3 separate regions of the Homo sapiens genome follow, and all the other regions are linked to region 3. The links are contacts of gene promoters, found by promoter capture Hi-C in blood cells and fetal thymus (Javierre and others, 2016). All regions are on one chromosome and are shown on one strand. The core of a region is centred on a gene start or on the middle of the fragment in contact, and the rest is flanking DNA. Distances in the headings are between cores, read along the strand shown.

Region 1 (2,700 bases), core at 59-2,558, 440 kb before region 3:
TAGTTTTGGGTCATCTTATCTGGATAACACTAACAAAGGATCTAAATACTGCTTTAGTTTTATGGATATTTAAAATAGTATGCTTTAGAACTATTTTGTGCTATTATAACATGACTAGGCTTATTAGCAGCTCATTAACATATAATGGTAAGTTTAAAAGACTGCGTAGACTGTTGAAGATCAGAATACAAATTGAGATACTGTATAAAGCTGAAATAAATAAATTCAGATAGGAATAATATTTAAAAACATCCACTGGTAGAATGCTCTAATTCACCTTGGCAGATTTGTAATAACTTGATAAGAACCATTATTTATTTATTTATTTTTTAAAAAGGAACCATTATCTTAGAGACAGAGTATAAAAATGTACATCATTGGTACAATCTATACAAAATGATAGATTGTTAGTAGCATTCTATACAAAATGACATTAAAATGCACATTCTGGTCTTGAACTTCTGGCCTTAAATATCCTTGCACCTTGGCCTCCCAAAGTGTTGAGATTACAGGCATGAGCCTCTTTGCCTGGCCACAGCCTAATCTTTAGGAGGAACCAAATAGCATTGCTTGGCATTGATGTCAGATCACACACCACAAGCTGAATTGTAACTCTTTTTCTCTCAGAAACTGTATAGATTTTTCTATTGGTAAATTGATGTCTCGGTTAGATATAGTCTTAGGACTACTGACTGTTTGCTTTTACATGTTGGTGCTGCAGCTTAATGCATTTAGTTTGCTAGTATTTACAAAAAGTCAAGAAATTTCACTTGTATTCAGGTAGTTTTTTTTTTTTTTTAAACTTTTTAGTAATTTGAAGCTTTGATCCTTACTTTGAAAAGAAGTCTCAGGGTACATTAAGTCTTACATGCAGTGGCTGAATAGTCAGATTCTGTAATAATCAACTGAAGTTGTTTATTTCTGAAATACTGTGTGTATCTTTTTTTTTTCCTGTTCATATAAACAGCCATTTATTCCAGCACTATTTGTTGAAAAGATTGTTGTTTTACATTTGATTACCTTGGCACTATTTTTCTTTTCTTTCTTTCTTTTTTTTTTTTGCATTCCCTTACCTATCTTTTTTATTTTAAAGTCAAACCTTCAGAAGGAATACAATAAGCACTTGCCTACCCCCATCTAGTTGCAGCAATTTCTAACATTTTGTGCACATGTTGAACTACTACTGTATGTATTCTTAATAGTTAGCTAGCTATATCCTTGATATAACTAGTTTTTATTTATTTTTATTTATTTTTTTTTGGAGACGGAGTCTCACTCAGTCGCCCAGGCTGGAGTGCAGTGGCGCGATCCTGGCTCACCTCCCGAGTTCACGCCATTCTCCTGCCTCAGCCTCCCAAGTATCTGGGACTACAGGCGCCTGCCACTATGCCCAGCTAATTTTTTTTGTATTTTTAGTAGAGACGGAGTTTCACCGTGTCAGCCAGGATGGTCTCGATCTCCTGACCTCGTGATCTACCTGTCTCAGCCTCCCAAAGTGCTGGGATTACAGGCATGAGCCAACGCGCCCGGCCGATATAGCTAGTTTTTAAAATGAAATTACAGTTTAACATTAGCTTTTTGATTTACTGTGGTTTTTAGGGTACTGTATTAGTAGTGTCAGGGTCAGTATTATGTTATAAAAATTGTGTCTTAGCTTTGCATTTAATGCTTGACTTGCTTGCTACTTTTTCTCTACGTGTGTGTCTCATTGCTTTTATCCTTTTGCTGTGAGGGTTAGAGTTTGTAACCAAACACTAATGCAGTCATACTTTATAAGGCATTTATTCAAAGCTTTATTGGGCATCAATAAATAATGGCTACTTAAATTAATTAAAATTTAAAATTCAATTCCTCAGTAACCCTAGCCACATTTCAAGTGCTCAACAGCTACATGTGGGTAGTGGTTACTATATTGGACAGTGCAGATAGATATAGAACAGTTTGATCATTACAGAAAGGTCTTTTGAATAGTACTATTCTAGACTCTGGGGCTACAGAGATAAACATGGTTGATAAGGTGCTTGCCCTCATGGTATGTACCTTCTGGTGGGATCTATAGACAGTAAACAAATATATAATGTCAGTACTAGGAAGAAAGATGAAAGTAAAATGGGGTATAAAGAGCATGGGCAGGAACAGTGAGGGGGAGCTATTTTAGATAGGTTGTCAAATGCTCTCTGAGAATAAGATATCTGAATGTCATTGAAGTGAAGGAGCAAGTCTTGTCAACATCTGTGGGAAGAACATTCAGGCATAGGAAACAGCAAGTACAATGGCTTTGAGGTGAGAACAGGCTTCGCATATTTGAAGAATGGCAGGAAGGCCTGTGCAAATGAGGTACTGGGAGAATGGTAGAAGATGGGGGCGAAGAAGAGTGATAGTGGCCAGATCATGTGGGACTCTGTGGTCCCTGGTAAGGAGTTTGGATTTTAACCTGAGTGTGGCGAAAAGACCACTGGAGGGTTTTGAGCAGAGGAGTGGCATGATCTGCATTATATTTATTTAACTTTAATGTGCTGAATTTATAAAAATAGAACACTAGTGAACTCCCAGGTGCTCACAGTCTAACTCTAGCAACCATCATCTCTTGGATGACCAGTCCTGTCCTACATGTATATACATTTCGTTTCCTTTCCCCCTTCCTGTATCATTTTGAAACACGATTTATGTTTTAAAAGATCACCCTGGCTGCTGTGTGGG
Region 2 (2,801 bases), core at 232-2,731, 300 kb before region 3:
TGACAATTCTGTAAGCAAAGGCTAAGAATGTGCTCCAAAGACAGAATAGGAGCTTTATTTGCTATTTTCCAAGTTTAAGATGTTCATCCATCTGGCAGAGCAGCTAGACAATACATCAGCCAAGAACATCTCTCTGGCTTGAAATAGTTCTGGCTCTCAAAGAGGATTTGACTGAGGGAAAGGCAACATCTTTAGTTGCTCTAAGGCTGAACTCTTCTAATATTTCCCCCCAATGCCTTCTCCAAGCCTTGGCTCCATCCACTAACTTGGTTTCCATAGGAATAGACAGAGCTATCAAGTGGCACGGAGTCAAACAGCACAAATGAGAGAAGGAGAAAATGTTACTGTCAAAAAAAGGCTTTTCTCTATGAGAGGAAATTATGGAAAGGTATTCTTGACTCTGAGGCTTCCTTATCCAATGCCAGATTTTTCAGGTGCTCTTCCTGACTAATATAGCCTATTTTATTTAGATTATTATGAAAATTAATGCCTTCATTGGAGAGCCTTTTATATATAGGAAACTAACCAAAAATAAATATTGAAAAAAGTTATAAAATGCTGGGATGCTTATTTCCACAAGGATAATTCTGTTGTGCTTGTGAGGTACTCTGATTTATTTAGAGTGGTGCTTTAAATTGGTACAACCTTTTAGGATGATTATAAAGTATATTTGGTTTCTCACAGTTGGTATTTTATTTAAGGACAACATTTTTTTTTTGTCTTAAACTCTAGCAAAAGAAGTTCTCAAACTCTAGCATGCATCAAGATCGTCTGGAGGGCTTGAAAACACATAGGCCCTCCCGCAGAGTTTGTCATTCACTGGTGTAGGGGCCAAGAATCTGCATTTTGTAGCAAGTTTCTGGGAAGTGCTGCTGCTGCTGGTCTAGAATCCTAAACTTTGAGAACCACTGTTGAAACAAAGAACCTAATCTAGGAGTTCTCAATCCTTAGGAGCTTAAAAAAAAAGTCTGTTCCCATCCTAGATCAACAAAATCAGAATTTCTGGGACTTTGGAATTAATATTTCTTAAATTTTCGGTAGGTGATTCAAAAATGCAACCGGGATTGAGAAGCACTGACCTAATTAAACCATTCATTCAACATTCAATGGTTATTTTTGATGTAATTACTCTGTATCAGACTCCATGCTAAGAGTTGGGGAAGCTTTATACAGATGTACGCTTGTATGCAATGCAAAATTATAAGCAAGGAAGGGTAAATGCACAAAAAGGATACAAAAACAGAACACAAAGACAGGATAGATGATGTACTTAAAAGTCATTCCTTGTGACTTCCCCAAGATGTCCTTGTGAAGAGGGGAAGGGGTTAGAACAGAATGACTTCATGAAAGAGATGGCAGTTGAACAGGATCTTAACTTAGGATTACTAACACTTTGACACTCCTCAATGTCTCCATCTTGTTCCTGCTCCCAATTTCTTTGATATGGAGGGCAATAAGTATTTTCTGAATTTTATGTAAAGTGCTATATAAAGACAGCTTCAAATCTTACTCCCACTCCTTCCAATCAATTTGTCCCCATAAGCTCCTCCTATATGCATATTCTGAAGCCAACATTAGTAAGTTGTGTATATCATGTCTCTTGGATCCACTTATTACATGCTCCAATAACCCCCACACTATCCCTCCCTTTGACCGTAATAGAAAGTGAAACCATATGCAATGCTATTCACTGCTGTCATACAATGAGATCAGTTCTATGATAGAGGTAAGGACACACGGTAGTAAGAACTCTGTAGAGGGGCACCTAACCCAGCCTTGAGGGGTCAGTAGAAGCTTATTGGAGAAAACAGTGCCTGAGCTGCATGTTGAAAGTATATGCAATTAAGCCAGCTTAAAGTAGGAAGGAAGCTGAATGTGCGACGGCATTGTGTGTGGAGGATGAAAAAGAGGTGACTAGAATGAAAGCTTTAAAAACACAGTATGTCTGAGGATAGAGTAGAACTGGAGACACAGGACACTGAAGCCCAAAAGATAAGCAAGAACTCGATGACGAAAAGTGCAGGGTCAAGGAGTTTGGGCTTTTCCTTTCAGTCTTCTGAAGCAGTACTGAAGGATTTTTTTTTTTTTTTTTTTTTTTTTTGAGACGGAGTCTCGTTCTGTTGCCCAGGCTGGAGTGCAGTGGCGCGATCTCGGCTCACTGCAAGCTCTGCCTTCCAGGTTCATGCCATTCTTCTGCCTCAGCCTCCTGAGTAGCTGGGACTACAGGCGCCCACCACCACGCCCGGCTAATTTTTTGTATTTTTAGTAGAGACAGGGTTTCACTGTGTTAGCCAGGATGGTCTCGATCTCCTGACCTTGTGATCCTCCCGCCTTGGCCTCCCAAAGTGCTGGGATTACAGGCATGAGCCACTGCACCCGGCCAGTACTGAAGGATTTAAGTAAGGGAGGGACATGAGAGAGGTCTCAGCCAGAACACTCCCACACCCAAAGGCAAATCACTGAATTTTTCCTAGCCTCTGTTTCCTCCCACATGAAAAATAAGGAGGGTGGATTCTGATCTAAAGCCCACCCAGCTTAATGTCCTTTGACTCTATGATTCTAATTCTAAAAGGCAGAAGACCTGCTCCCTATAGCTACTTCAAAACTAAATGTTTTTTATTCTAACTGACTCAACAATGACTTAATTTCTAATAATTTTTATTTTCCTTAACCACAGGGTAACAGTTTTTACATCCATTTCCTTTTTCCCAATACTGCACAAGTAATTCATTTTCCTAGCATATTGATGTTCGCTTTAGGGGATCCAAAAATGCTACTCCATGGGGAGGCAGTACGGTGTA
Region 3 (2,756 bases), core at 133-2,632:
GGGGCACTCTACAAAATAACTGACCAGCATTCTTCAAAAGTGTAAAGATCAGAAAGAGTATAAAGACAGAAAAAGACTATCAGTGTAAAGACAGGAAAAGACAGAGGAACTGTCACAGACTGGAGGAGACCAAGGACCCAAGACAACTAACTGCAATGTCGGGTCTTAGAGTGGATCCTAGAATAGAAAAAGGACATTAATACAGGAAAAAAAATCACAAGTTAGTAATTCAGTTAATAGTATTATACTAATATTAACTTCTTGCTTTTGATAATTGCGCTATGGTATGTAAAAAATTATTAATGGAGGCAATAGGGAACTCTGTATTACTTTTGAAACTTTTCTGTAATTTTAAAATTATTTCAAAATAAAAAAGTTTTTTAGTATAAGAGGATGTTTCACGTAAGACAGGTAAAAACATTTAGAAGTCAAAGAACTGCCATCGTATTCACTGCATTAATACTTGGAGAGAGGGGTGCCAGGACTGTGCCAGGTGCTTTACAAACTTTATCATGTAGTGCTTACAACTAATATGAGATGGGTACCATAATACTCATGTTTCCCAGTAAGTTACTTAGGAGGTTATTAATAAGTGAAAGACCCCATTTCTCAGGAAACCCAGCCCCCAAAAGTGACGAACACCTTCCATCGGCCCAGAGCTCCCACTTTTCAGGATACTAGTGGCGCCCGATTTCTTCCGGCCCGCCGCTTAATGTTTCTGACTTATGGAAGAGATACCGAATTTGGAGAGAAAAGTCAAAGTAAAGTCTCCTCTCTGAACCTCGGTTAGCTAAAAGGAGGGAGCCAAGGTGTGGGACCTTCTGCCAACCACCTCTGGGTTTGGCGAGCAGGGGCTTCCGGCCTCTCGCTCCCAGTCCTCCGAGCCTCACTACCATCGAGCGTCGCGTCATTCCTCGCAGTGTCACCCACAGCACACCTGGGCCACACACACCAAACGCCCCCACCAGCGAACGGATGCGCGGGTCTGTCCCGGGACCCAGACGCCAGCGACCCTGGCGACCCGGGGCCTACAGCGCGCCAGAGACAGGACGCGCGCCGGAAACTTTTCCACCCCGCGACCCCGGGAGGCCGTCCTGCTCGCATCGTCTGCGGCCTCCCTATACCAGCTTCCAATAAAGCTTCCAAAAACGAAACCAAGCGAGGCTCCGCCACTTCTGAAAAACAGGAGGAGCCACCATGGCGCTCGCACTTCGGATCCAATGCCCTACTTGCCGCCCAGCGCCTCTTGCGCGCGCCACACGGGCGCCAGGCCCACCAAGCCTGTGAGGGCCCGACGCCCCCAAAGGCGGCCTCCAGAGAGCCCCTTACCTCCCGCCGGGGCGCTCGAGGCCGGTCGGTGGGCACGGCGCAGGCGCAGGAGCGACGGGGCGGGGCATCACGAGGGGTGGGCAGGGTTGGGCCCCGCCCCCGCCCCCGCCCCCGCCCCGCAGGGCCCCCAGGCCGGGCGCTGGGGGCGCACAGGTGAGTACAAATGCGGACGCTGCTGAGAACAGCGAAAGCCTTTTTCAAAAGTGATATTGATTTACGTTATGGGGTTGTGACTCGAGCCAAGAGGAGAGAGACGCACAAACGCTCTTTAGGTCTGCTTGTTGTGTTTAAGACAATTCATGCTTGTATGGCCGACTGCATTTCGCAGTTTTCCTGTCCGTTTTCCTCTGTTCTTCCTAGAATTTTATTTGCGGGTTGGGCATGTATTCTTAGCTCTGTTTTGAAACTGAAGCTCAGAAAGGTGGTGCCTCCCCATCCCGTCCCCAAAAGCCCTGTGAAGTGGACAGGGCAGGAGTGCCATCTTAATTGCAACAGGTGTAAAAATTAAAGCTCAGCAAATTGTGGTTTCCTCCAAAAACTGGTGGAGGGCTTAAGGCAAACGTCTTTATCCCGATTTTATAGATTATGACTCTGGGGTTTAACAAAGAGTTTTAAGTGACTCACTCCAGTTCAGCCAGCTTATGGCAGAGCTGGAACTCCAACTGGGTGTCCTAATTTCCTTCCCAAGTTATTCCAGTTAGACCAGCTGCAACCACATGAACAAGCAGGTGGCCGGCTTTGAAGCCTTGTCCAAGTCACAGGTCCTCCTCTCTTCATGGCCTAACTTCCAGATCCAGCCCTTTTAAAAAGATGTCTGTGAATATTCAGATGACGTGCTTAGAATGTATTCACTAATGGCATTGTCTCAGAAGTGATCAGGATGTTCAAACCACAGTTAAGGAAACTGAGTTCTTAGGGTCTTCCAGTAGAGTAGGAGGTAAACAGGGAAGATTAGGGGCCTGTAGATCCTTTAAAAAGCCTTGAAAGACAATTTCTAAAACAAAGCACCAAATCTACCAAGCAATTTGGATTTTCTTTGGGGACATAATGTATACTGATATTTGTTTTACAATGAGCTCCAGAATGTATTTATCAAATTTTGATTCTAAGGAGAAAAATTAAAGTATTAGGCAATACTGTGAGAAAATGTTTTTTATGCAAGGATCAGTGAAATAAGATCTTTTGAAATAAAAGATCATTTGTGTTAAGTTCTGAAAAAGCTTCCTCAGGTACAAAATCAGGAGGTGTGGTACTCAAAGATTCTAAATTTGGACCTGGACTTCTAAGTTGTTATATGTATGTTTGCTGTAAGTTAGGTGTGTCAAAGTAGTAGGATAAACATTTTTTTTTTTTTTTTTTTTTTAGACAGAGTCTTGCTCTTTCGCCCAGGCTGGAGTGCAGTGGCATGATCTCAGCTCACTGCAACC

What was found. Contacts are between HindIII fragments. The CHiCAGO score rates a contact against its expected background, and 5 or more counts as called.
Region 1: a contact is called between a fragment that was not itself captured here and the fragment with the promoter of STX17 in region 3, in 1 of 17 cell types (fetal thymus). The highest score is 5.5, in fetal thymus.
Region 2: a contact is called between a fragment that was not itself captured here and the fragment with the promoter of STX17 in region 3, in 1 of 17 cell types (erythroblasts). The highest score is 5.5, in erythroblasts.

What each region holds. Positions count from the first base shown.
Region 1 is chr9:100,341,698-100,344,397 of GRCh38, reverse strand. The region is part of intron 4 of TEX10 (testis expressed 10); the gene reads left to right. Among named protein-coding and RNA genes, the nearest start is that of TEX10, 9.9 kb to the left of the region's middle. The HindIII fragment of the contact is 971 bases long and covers 823-1,793 here.
Region 2 is chr9:100,209,070-100,211,870 of GRCh38, reverse strand. All of the region lies in intron 3 of INVS (inversin), which reads right to left. Among named protein-coding and RNA genes, the nearest start is that of INVS, 110 kb to the right of the region's middle. RefSeq lists an enhancer at 1,782-1,831. The HindIII fragment of the contact is 631 bases long and covers 1,166-1,796 here.
Region 3 is chr9:99,905,280-99,908,035 of GRCh38, reverse strand. STX17 (syntaxin 17) reads right to left here and starts at 1,382. Exons shown (of 8, transcript NM_017919.3): 1 at 1,330-1,382. STX17-DT (STX17 divergent transcript) reads left to right here and starts at 1,435. Exons shown (of 3, transcript NR_038853.1): 1 at 1,435-1,482. RefSeq lists an enhancer at 844-1,083 and a silencer at 1,244-1,643. The HindIII fragment of the contact is 1,410 bases long and covers 1,142-2,551 here.